2 separate regions of the Homo sapiens genome follow, and region 1 is linked to region 2. Evidence: promoter capture Hi-C in human tissues and cell types (Jung and others, 2019). All regions are on one chromosome and are shown on one strand. The core of a region is centred on a gene start or on the middle of the fragment in contact, and the rest is flanking DNA. Distances in the headings are between cores, read along the strand shown.

Region 1 (6,083 bases), core at 861-3,360, 42 kb after region 2:
GTTGTGAAATAACACAGAGGAGGGCATAATTAACTCTGCAAGAGTTAGGAGGAGGTTCAAAGAGGAGGGCCTAGTGAGTAGGCATTTTCAAGATGTAAAGGAATAGAGGGGATGATGTGGAAAGAGGAAGAACCTCTCAAAACAAGACAGGGCTGGGCTTGGTGCCTCACACCTGTAATCCCAGCACTTTGAGAGGCTGAGGCAGGATGATCAGTTGAGCCCAGGAATTTGAGACCAGCCTGAGCAACACAGCAAGAACCCTGTTTCTATTTAAATAAGTTTAATATATTAAAAAAAGACAACAGAGTAAACAAGAAGCACTGAGGCATGAGACAACATGACATGCAAAAGACAGTAAAGTTGAACTAGTAACATAATTTCTAATGTCTCCAAATGACGAAAGTAGCATACAGCTCTTAAAACTGACATGAGAAAGTGCATTTAGTGACTTCAGTCTTTGGTGGAAGTTCCTAGTGTATGAAATGGAACAGATGAGAAAAGGCCTTGGTTCCCATGCTGTGGGAATAGGGAACTGGTGAAGGGCTAAGTATCAGAGGACGTGTAATTCAGATAAATCACTCCGTTGGTTACCTGGAGGGTGAATTTGAGGAGAATGAGACTGGAGGCAGGAGCAAGGCAGTACCAGTGCAGGTGAAGAAAGAACATAGGTAGAACTTGGCCACCAATTAGAAAAGGTGAGAGGAGGAGCCAAGGAGAGGGAAACATGTGGGATCACGGCCAGGTTTCAGGCTGGAACAGGACAAATGGCAGAAGCATCCAATATTGAAAATAGAGTCAGAGGAGCCTTCTTGAGTGGAGAGGGATAACAGGGCATTCTAGGACAGGATGGGTTTGAGATTTCTTGACATATCTGAGTGGAAAAGTCTTGGAAGCATGAGGCCACACCAGAGCTCAGTGAGGGCAAGAAGATAGGGAGTGTGGAGTCATCAGCTTGCAGGTGACAGCTGAAGCCATTCTCCCACTTCAGGAGAGAAGCACATGAGCAAAGAGCTGAGATTCCTGGAGAACACCAACATTCCCAAGTGAGCTGAAAGAGAGAATTCGGAGGAGGGCCAGAGGGAAAATTAAATGGAAGAGTGTGCTGTAGAGATAGCACTGTGATCCAGGGCTTGATCTTTGAAGGCAGACTGCCTGAATGACAGTTTCCTTTTCTGTAAATGAGAGTGAAATTATCTACCCATGCATGGAAAAAAACCCTCAACAAACTAGAAACAGGAGGGAACTTCATCAGCATGATGAAAAGCATCTGTGAAAACCTAACAGTTAACAGATTTAATGGTGCAAGACTGAATGCTTTCCCCTAAGATTGGGAACAAGACAAGGATGGCCATGTTCAGCAGGTCTATGCAGCCTTGGTTCTGACCAGGATGATTAGGCGATTGATATATAAAAGGATCCAGATTAGAAAGGAAAAAGTAAAACTGTCTTACTCCCAAATGTCATGATCTTGTATACAGAAAATCCTAAGGTATCCAGTTTAAAAAAAAAACAAAACTAGAACTAGTTCAGCAAGTTCACAAAATCAGCATACAAAAATCAATTGTATTTCTGTACACTAGCAATGAGAAATCCAAAAATGAAATTCAGAAAATTATTCCATTCACAATAGCATCCCAAAGAATAAAGTACTCACTGTGGAAAGAAACTAAAAAAGAACTAAATAAATGAAAGATATTCCATGTTCATGGATCAGAAGACTAAATATTATTGTCAGTACTCATCAAATTAGTCTACAGGATCAACCTGATTCCTATCAAAATCCCAGCTACCTTTTCTGCAGAAATTGACAAGGTGATCCTAAAATTCATATGGATATGCAAAGGACACAGAATAAGCAAAATAATCCTGAAAAAGAAGAACAAGATTGGAGGACTTATCTTCCTAATTTCAAAACTTGCTACAAAGTAATCAAGAGGGTATGGTACTGTCTTAAGGACAGATGTATAGGTCACTGGAATATAGTTGAAAGCTCAGGCTGGGCACTCATGCCTGTAATTGCAGCACTTTGGGAGGCTGAGGTTGGGGGATCCTTTGAGGTCAGGAATTCAAGACCAGCTTGGGCAACATAGACAGTGAGACCTGTCTAAAAAAATAAAAATTAAAGACAAATTTGATTAGCCAGGCATGGTGGTATAGGCCTGCTGTCCCATCTAGTCAGGAAGCTGAGGTGGGAGGATCTCTTGAGCCTAGGAATCTGAGAATGCAGTGAGCTATGATTGGCTACTACACTCCAACCTGGGGAAGAGAGAGAAAACGTATCTGTAAAAGAAAATAAAGCCAAGTGTGGTGTCTTATGCCTGTAATCCCAAAACTTTAAAGGGCCAAGGAGAGAGGATCCCTTGAAACCAGGAGTTTGACACCAGCCTGGGCAACATAACAAGACTCTGTAACTATGAAAATTAAATTAAATTAAATTTAAAACTATGGCTGGGTGTGGTGTAATCCCAGTACTTTGGGAGGCTGAAGTGGGTGGATCACCTGAGGTCAGGAGTTCGAGACCAGCCTGGCCAACATGGCAAAACCCTGTCTCTACTAAAAATACAAAATTAGCCAGGCGTGGTGGTGTGTGCCTGTAACACCAGCTACTCCAGAGGCTGAGGCAGGAGAATCACTTAGAACCTGGGAGGCAGAGGTTGCAGTGAGCTGAGATCACACCACTGCACTCCAGCCTGGGTGATGGAGGGAGACTCTGTCTCAAAAAGAAAAAAAAAAAATTAGCCAGGTATGGTGGCACACACTTGTCGTCCCAGCTACTTAAGAGACTGAGGCAGGAGGATGAATTGAGCTCAGGAGTTTGAGGCTGCAGTGAGCTATGATCACACCACTGCACTCCAGACTGGGCAACACAATAAGACCCTGTCTCGAAAAAAAATGAATTGATTAACTGAAAAATAATTGAAATCCCGGAAAGAAACCATTACATTTAAAGTCAATTGATTTGACAAAGGGGTCAAGAAACTTCATTTGGAAAGGAATAGTCTTTTCTTTTTTTGTTGTTTTTCATTTTGTAGAGACACATGTCTCACCATGTTGCCCAAGCTTATCTTAAACTCCTGGAGTCAAGCAATACTCCTGCCTTGGTCTCCCAAAGTGCTGGGATTACAGGTATGATCCACTATGTCCAACCATGAATAGTCTTTTCAACAAATGGTGGTGGGGCAATTGGATATTCATGTGCAAATAAATTAATTTGGGTCTCTGCCTAACACCATACACAAAAATTAACTGAAAATGGATCACAGACCTAAATGTAAAAACTAAAACTATAAAACTCTTAGAAAAAAACACAGGAGTAAATCCTTGTGATCTTGTGTAAGGCACTGATGTCTTAGATGCAATGTCAAAAGCACAGTTCAAGACCAGCTGGGGCTAAATAATGAGACCTGGAAAAGGAGGAAAGGGAAAAAGTGAGAAAATGAAAAATGGCAAATTGAACATCAGCCAAATTTAAAACTTTGGCACATCAAAAGATACAATCAAAAAAGGGAAAGACAGCCCACAGAATGAGAGAAAATATTTATAAATCATATGTCTAATAAGTGATATATCCAGAAGAACTCTTACAACTCAATATTAAAAGACAATCCAGCTTAAAAATGGGAAAAGAACATGAATAGACATTTCTCCAAAGATGATATATTAATGTCCAATAAGCACATTAAAAAGTGTTTAACATCAGTCACTAGGAAAATGCAAATCAATCCACAATGGGATGTCGCTTTACACCCACTAGAATGAATACAACCAATCAAGACAGATAACGCCAAGTGCTGGAGAGGAGGTGGAGAAATCGAAACCCTCATACACTGCCAGTGGGAATATAAAATGGTGCAGCCACTTTTTTGGAAGATAGTATGTCAGTTTCTTAAAATGTTAAAAATAAAACTGCTTTAAACCCAGCAACTTTACTTCTAGGTATCTACCCAGGGAAAATAAAAATGTATGTCGACACAAAGACTTGTATGTGAATATTCACAACACCATTCACAAGAATCGAAAGGTGGAGACAACTCAAATGCCCATCTACTGACAAAGGGATTAAAATGTGGGATATACAAAGGAATACTACTCAACAATCAAAAGGAAGTTCTGAGGCACACTACCACAGTGGTCACCCTCAACAACACAATGCTTCATGAAAGAAGCCAGATGCAAAACAACACACATTGCATGATTCAGTTTATATGAAATGTCCAGGACAGCCTCGTATAGGGACAGAAAGCAGATTACTGGTTGTCGAGGGCTGGGAATAAGACTGAAAAGTGACTCTGATAGGCACAAGTTTCTTTCTTGGGATGACAAAATGTTCTAAAACTAGATTTCGGTGATGGTTACATAATTCCATAAATATACTAAATATACTAAAAATCGTTGAATTGGACCAGGCACAGTGGCTCACACCTGTAATCCCAGCACTTTGGGAGGCCAAGGCAAGAGGATCACTTGAGCCCAGGAGTTCAAGACCTGTCTGGGAAACATAGAGACTCCATCTCTACAAATAGTTTTTTTAAAATTAAACAGGTGTGGTGGCACAAGCCTGTAGTCTCAACTACTCAAGAAGCTGAGGCAGGAGGATCACCTGATCCCAGGAGGTTGAGGGTGCAGTGAGCCATGATAGCACCATTATGCTCCAGCCTTGGTATCAGAGTGAGATCTTGTCTCTCACACACACACACAAAAATCATTGAATTGTACACTTAAAATAGGTGAATTTTAGTATGTAAATTAGACCTCTATAAAGCTGTTAATTTTCTTAAGGTTTTTTTTTTTTCTTTTTTCTTTTTTTTTTTTTTGAGACAGAGTTTTGCTCTTATTTCCCAGGCTGGAGTGCAATGGCACGATCTCAGCTCACTGAAACCTTCGCCTCCCAGGTTCAAGCGATTCTCCTGCCTCAGACTCCCAAGTAGCTGGGATTACAGGCTCCTGCCATGAAGCCCAGCTAATTTTTTGTATTTTTAGTACAGACAGGGTTTCACCATGTTAGCCAGGCTGGTCTCGAACTCCTGACCTCAGGTGATCCACACACCTCAGCCTCCCAAAGTGCTGGGATTACAGGCGTGAGCCACTGCACCAGGCAATTTTTTTAAGTTTTAAAATTACAATATTTACCCCTAGCACCAAGATTGTCTCAAAATACCACTAAAAGAAAACAAGCCTTCCTGGAGAGAGTGCTGATTCCAGGTCTAGGCCAGAAATGTATAAGATAAGCCTGGAACACTGTCACTCTGGATAGCAAGGAATCTATCAAAGATTAGGATGCTTTCAACACGTCTGAAGAGCCAATCTGAAGGGACTCCTTCTAACCAAAGATAGGACATTTTATACATTAATAAGGATAATAATTGCAGTGGATTGAAATACATCAAATGTGTTTGAATGTCTGCATTCATAATGATTCTTTATAAAAAATAAAAGTGGGTTGGCCAGCCACAAGGGCTCATGCCTGTAATCCCAGCACTTAGGGAGGCCAAGGCAGGAAGATCACCCGAGGTCAGGAGTTCGCAACCAGCCTGGCCAACCTGGTGAAACCGCATCTCTACTAAAAGTACAAAATTAGCTGGGTGTAATGGTGCATGCCTGTAATCCCAGCTACTCAGGAGGGTGAGGCAGGAGAATCACTTGAACCCAGGAGGTGGAGGTTGCAGTAAGCCGAGACCTCGCCATTGCGCTCCAGCCTGGGCAACAGAGCAAGACTCCATCTCAAAAAAAAAGAATAAATAAATAAATAAATGTGGGCTGGGGACAGTGGCTCATGCCTTTGGGAGGCCGAGGCAGGAGAATCACTTCAGCCCAGGAGTTCAAGACCAGCCTGGACAACACAGGGGGACCCTGTCTCTACAAAAAATGTTTTAAATTACTCAGGCTTAAGGGCCCATGTCTGTGGTCCCAGGTACTCAGGAGGCTGAGATGGGAGGATTGCCTGAGCACAGAAGTTTGAGGCTGTGGTGGCATGATTGTCCCACTGCATGCCAGCCTGAGCAACAGAGCTAGACCGTCCCTGTCTAAATAAATAAACAAATAAAAGTAGTCACCATCAAAGGATATAAATGAAGCAGACCATC
Region 2 (6,380 bases), core at 2,374-4,873:
AGAAAAGGCCTTCCATAAAATTCAACACCCCGTTCGTGCTAAAAACTCTCAATAAACTAAGTATTGATGGAACGTATCTCAAAATAATAAGTTATTTATGACAAACAATCAATAAACGTAATCCGTCACATAAAAAGAACCAATGACAAAAACCACATGATTATCTCAATAGATGCAGAACAGGCCTTCGATAAAATTCAACACCCCTTCGTGCTAAAAACTCTCAATTAACTAAGTATTGATGGAACATATCTCAAAATAATACGTTATTTATGACAAACCCACAGCTAATATCATACTGAATGGGCAAAAGCTAGAAGGATTCCCTTTGAAAACCGGCACAAGACAAGGATGCCCTCTCTCACCACTCCTATTCAACATAGTATTGGAAGTTCTGGCCAGGACAATCAGGCAAGAGAAAGAAATAAACGGTATTCAAACAGGAAGAGAGGAAGTTAAATTGTCTCTGTTTGCAGATGACATGATTGTATATTTAGAAAACCCCATCATCTCAGCCCAAAAACTCCTGAAGCTGGTAAGCAACTTCAGTAAAGTCTCAGGATACAAAATCCATGTGCAAAAATCACAAGCATTCCTATACACCAATAATAGACAAATAGAGAGCCAAATCATGAGTGAACTCCCATTCACAATTGCTACCAAAAGAATAAAATACCTAGGAATACAACCTACAAGAGATGTGAAGGACTTCTTCAAGAAGAACTACAAACCACTGCTCAAGGAAATAAGAGAGGACACAAACAAATGGAAGAACATTCCATGCTCATGGATAGGAAGAATCAATATTGTGAAAACGGCCATACTGCCCAAAGTAATTTACAGATTCATTGCTATTCCAATCAAGCTACCATTGACTTTCTTCACAGAATTAGAAAAATCCACTTTAAATTTCACATGTAACCAAAAAAGAGCCCGTATAGCCAAGACAATCCTAAGCAAAAATAACAAAGCTGGAAGCATCACACTACCTGACTTCAAACTGTACTACAAGGTTACAGTAACCAAAACATGTTACTGGTACCAAGACAGATATATAGACCAATGGAGCAGAACAGAGGCCTCAGAAATAACACCACACATCTACAACCATCTGATCTTTGACAAACCTGACAAAAACTAGCAATGGGGAAAGGATTCCCTATTTAATAAATGGTGTTGGGAAAACTGGCTAGCCATGGGCAGAAAACTGAAAGTGGACCCCTTCCTTATATCTTATACAAAAATTAACTCAGTTCTGAAGGAGGTCGGGGTCAAGATGGATTAAAGACTTAAACGTAAGACCTAAAACCATAGAAACCTTAGAAGAAAACCTAGGCAATATCATCCAGGACATAGGCATGGGCAAAGACTTCATAACTAAAACATGAAAAGCAATGGTAACAAAAGCCAAAATTGACAAATGGGATCTATTTAAACTAAAGAGCTTCTGCATAGCAAAAGAAACTATCATCAGCGTGAACAGGCAACCTACCGAATGGCAGAAATTTTTTCCAATCTATCCATCTGACAAAGGGCTAATATCCAGAATGTATAAGGAATTTAAACAAATTTACAAGAAAAAAACAACAACACTATCAAGAAGTGGGCAAAGGATATGAACAGACACTTAACAGAAGAAGATATTTATGTGGCCAACAAACATGAAAAAATGCTCATCATCACTGGTCATTAGAGAAATGCAACGAGATACCATCTCACGCCAGTTAGAATGGCCATCATTAAAAAGTCAGGAAACAACAGATGCTGGAGAAGATGTGGAGAAATAGGAATGTTTTTACACTGTTGGTTGGAGTGTAAATTAGTTCAACTATTGTCAAAGACAGTGTGGCGACTCCTCAAGGATCAAGAACTAGAAATACCATTTGACCCAGCCATCCCATTACTGGGTATATACCCAAAGGATTACAAATCATTCTACTATAAAGACAAGTGCACCCGTATGTTTATTGCAGCACTATTCACGACAGCAAAGACTTGGAACCAACCCAAATGCCCATCAATAATAGACTGGATAAAGAAAATATGGCACATATACACTATGGAATATTATGCAGCCATAAAAAAGAATGAGTTCATGTTCTTTACAGGGACATGGATGAAGCTGGAAATCATCATTCTCAGCAAACTTACACTGGAACAGAAAACCAAACACCGCCATGTTCTCACTCATAAGTGGCAGCTGAACAATGAGAACATATGGGCACAGGGACGGGAGCATTACACAATGTGGCCTATTGGGGTTGGGGGGCAAGGGAAGGGATAGCATTACGAGAAATACCTAATGTAGATGATGGGTTGATGGGTGCAGCAAACCACCATGACACGTGTATATGTATGTAACAAACCTCCACGTTCTGCACATGTATCCCAGAACTTAAAGTATAATAAAAAATTGAAAAAAGAAATGGAGAAAGACAAGAACGCAGAATTGATCATACCCCATACCTCAGGGAAGCAGAGGAAAGGGAAGATGACTATAGGATCAGCTTATTCTGGAATAGATTCTTGAAGGGCTGGACCTGGGGCTAAGGAACAGGAGAGAAAAGCCTCTTCTATGTACCTTGGTATAATCATAGTGACTCCTAACAATTACCGCTTCCTCAGTAAAATTGTTGAAATTTAGAACAACACTCTTCAAATTAGCCACTAGGGGAAAGGGCAACCAATCTTCTTTTTTTCTAAATCGTTTAACCACATGAATTAATATATAGAAAACTACACTGCAGTGCACACTGTCCCTCAGCAGGCGTGGTGGCATGGAAGGACGCGAACGACCCCGGGAGTGGCGGGTGAGGAGGGAAGGGGAGCGAGCGGGTGCGAGGTGCCCGCGTTTTCCTGGGGCCCGGGAGGGAAAGGGAGAGGGTGTGAGGTGCCTGCCTTCTCGGGGCTTGGGAGGGAAGGTGAGCAGGTTTAAGGCGCCTGCCTTCCTTGGGGCCTGGGAGGGAAGGAGAGAGGGTGCGAGGTGCCCGCCATTCTCAGGGCCTGGGAGGGAAGGGGAGCGGGTGCGAGGTTCCTGCCGTTTTGCGAGGCTGCGGAGCCTGCTGTGTCCCCTTTCCCGCCCACTCTCCGACCTGCAGGCCCACGGCGCTCAAGGTAATAGGGTCCCCAGCCCTGGAATCAACTCCCTGGGTCTCGGAACGCAACCCACACAAACCTGGACCCTGTCTCTCACTGGCGGGGAGTCGCCTTCGCATGCAGACGTGGAGAAGTCGCCTCCACCCGCAGCTCCTCCCGTGGACCCAGGCCGCCTCCCCCACGCCCCTCCCGGAGTCCCCAGACCCTCCGTGGCGCTCCTGGTACCGCCCCCACTGCCCCACTCACAAAGAGCCTCAGCTTCTTCTCGGGGGGCGACTTCCTCAGCCAGCCGCTGTACAGCACGTGGCCACTTCTCGTGCTTCCGCCGGCGGGGCCACTTCCGGGCCACGAAGACAAAGGCGCAAATGCCGGGTCAGGTGGGCACAGCTCCCGGGAGGGTGAGGGGGACGGCAGGGACATGGGGGCTGCAGCTCACAGTGAAGGTGGGGGAGACAGGGCGAGAGGGCGTTGCTGGAGGTGGGGTGTGAGGGACGGCTTGCGATACCCTGGGACTGCGGGGTAGAAAGCGCAGTTCTAGGGGAGGTCGGGGTCAGAGGTGAAGCTCGTGGGGAGGGCGAGACCCGGGCGCAGGTGCTCACAGGCGAGGGCGGGGTTCAGGTTCCAGCTGGGCTTTGAGTTCCGGTTCAGGCTTCCATCTGTGGTTCCGGTTCCAATTTGAGGTGGAGTTTGGGATTAAAGTTTAGACGAGGCCTCTCGTTCAGGGTTTGCGTTGGGGATTGGGGTGGGGATTTGCACCCTGGGTCAGCCTGGGTGCATCTCATCGGGACCACCGGGGCGGGGGACATGGGCCGGGTGGCTCCTTGGGAGAAGAGGGACAGGGAGCGCAGCTGGTGGAGAGGACAAGAACGAGGGGCGCAGCTCATTCAGAGGGCCACAACAGAGTCTCAGGTGCTGAGTCCCATGCGCCAGATGAGGAAAGACAATGGAAGAGTTCAGGTTCCTGCTGGGGTTTGAGTTCCAGTTCGGGATTCGGCCCATGGTTTACCTTCTGACTTGAGTTGGGGTTTGGGGTCAAGGTTCAGGCTAGGACTTGAGTTCCGGGTTGCAGTTTGGGGGTGGGGTTAGGTTTCAGAGTGAGGGTTTGGGCCTGTTTGTGTTGTGTATGTTTGTGAATGTATTGGGATGTCACCGTGTGTACTTATGTCACGTGTGTGCACGCATCAGTGTGTGCATGTGTGAGTGTTCATTGAGTGTGGCACTGACAGCCAACCCCTCTCCTCCCATTTATGCCCCACTGTCTTATCCTGGTTGGGGTGGGCTTTACAAGTTCCTTCCCTGGGCCAGTTGGAGGTTCTCATGTTGCCTGGGGAGAGAAGGGAAGGAGAGAACAGGTCAAAGATGAGGGCAGCTTGGCCTCAACCAGACCCGGTGTCACGGGGACCAAGAAGCCGGAGGTCCTTGTCTCCTGCCTCTGGAGGAGCTTGGTTTGCTTCTTTGTTCACACATTGTGTGAAAGCACAGTTGGGGGCATCTGATATGCACAGGATCTGTTCTTGCCTCTGCAGATGTCTTAGAGAACAGGACAGACAAGGGGCCTCTTCAGTAAGCCATCCCCAATGTGCACTGCATGTCAGCTTACAAGAGGGGCACAGGGGCCCCATCAGGTAGCAGGGAGGATGCAAGGAAGAGTGTGTGGGGATGGGGGTGCTGGGTGGGGCCAGGTGAGTGGGTGCCTGGCTTCTCCTCAGAGCAAAGGAAAGTGCTGAAGAGTGTGAAACTGTGTGACATGTTATGCTTTATGTTTTGAGAATGGATTGCAGGAACAAGCAGACATGGGGGACCTGATGAGGGCCAATGGGATGTCCATAGAGATAAGATTTGGCTTGAGCTGGTGGGAAAAGTGGAGATGGAGCCACATGGAGGAAATTGCAGAGTCTTGAGACTGAGGAGACATGTGGGTGGATGAGATATGAGTAGTGACCCGACCCTGAGGTGGGGAATGGGGGGACAGCCCCGAGGGGAGGTTGGTGAGGTGTATTTGGACCTATTGGGTTGGAGCCCTAGGCAGCATCCTCATGGGAGGACCACTGGGTCCTGGTCAGGCAGACATGGTGCTCAGGGAGACACTGGATGAGGTGGGAGCCATAGACCCTCTGCTGATGGCAAGAATGGGGTTCCTGGAGGTGCTGGCTCCCTCTGCAGGCTGCAGTCATGGCGAGTCAATTCTAAACTCACCATCACAGCTCACACTGTAAAGGACACATACCTTAGTATAAATCAGTTAGCCAACGAGGCCACAGGGTACCCAGTTGGATCCTGCCCTGAGATGAGAGTAGGTTTGGATGGGGTGAGACGGGAGAGAGGCAGTGGCAGGAATGAGGCAGATAAGGTCTTCCTGGATGGAAGGGAGCTCAGCCCCTGCAGTGACCTCGTACCGACTGGGGCCTCAGCAGGAGCCCCGACCTGGGTCCCCGTGGGCCTCTGACTGTCTTCTCCTGGCCTCAGGGTGGAAAGAACCCTCTTCCAGAATATGTCCTCTCCAGCAACATTCTTCCAGCCCCCTACAGTGCGCACAATGGGAACTTCAGGAGAGTGCAGAGACTGCCACAGGGCATGGAAGGCAGGTGTTGCCCCAAGGTCTAGCCTGCCCAGGATGTTGGCTTTGATGACGGTTGGGGGCCACTGTGGGCGACTTATGAGTGTTCTGAGCCTTTTTGTGTGTGTATACAGTGAATTTAAATTTATCCTCTGTGTCTCAAGTGGACAAAAAAAAACCACTTTATTTTCCATTGATGATTTATTTTTCTTGTGTCTTCCATTCCATGGTTGATGGAAAATATATATAAGTTTCTCATAACTTATCTCTGTTTCCTCTGCTTTGCAGCTATCCGTGCCCACCATGGGTCTCACCTCCTCCTTCTGTGAGTGTCTGTCCGGTGGCTGTCGGGGAGGGTCTCCAGCACTTGTGCTGCCCCTGGGACCCTCACTGACCCTGGGCTCCTGGTCTGCCCACCCCTTCGATTCCCCTGGAGTCACACATTGGCACCAGAGTCAGGAATGGGCTCTGCATTTCCCCCTCTGTGGGCCTCGTCTGGCTCCCACAGCCCATGTATCAGCGAACTACTTGGGGGTCACATAGGACCCTCCCCTCCCTGCTGAGCTGGCAGTTCATGCCCCGTGGGTAGGAGGAAGGGCAGAGGGAGAGCTCCAGGGGTGGGCTCCAGTGTGCTCCCTCAGGCTTCTCACTTTGGGCAAAGGACACAGGGCATGAGGGCCTCTCCCTGCGGTCTGGACCAAGCTGACCTGGGTCTTTACCAGTCAGG

What was found. Contacts are between HindIII fragments. The study calls those that stand out against the background at their distance.
Region 1: a contact is called between a fragment that was not itself captured here and the fragment with the promoter of GAB4 in region 2, in 2 of the 25 tissues and cell types used here (mesendoderm cells and stomach).

What each region holds. Positions count from the first base shown.
Region 1 is chr22:17,047,821-17,053,903 of GRCh38, forward strand. All of the region lies in intron 3 of CECR7 (cat eye syndrome chromosome region, candidate 7), which reads left to right. Among named protein-coding and RNA genes, the nearest start is that of CECR7, 14 kb to the left of the region's middle. The HindIII fragment of the contact is 5,281 bases long and covers 1-4,751 here.
Region 2 is chr22:17,004,599-17,010,978 of GRCh38, forward strand. It overlaps GAB4 (GRB2 associated binding protein family member 4), which reads right to left and starts at 3,624. Exons shown (of 10, transcript NM_001037814.1): 1 at 3,343-3,624. The coding sequence starts at 3,516. The HindIII fragment of the contact is 10,541 bases long and covers 1-6,380 here.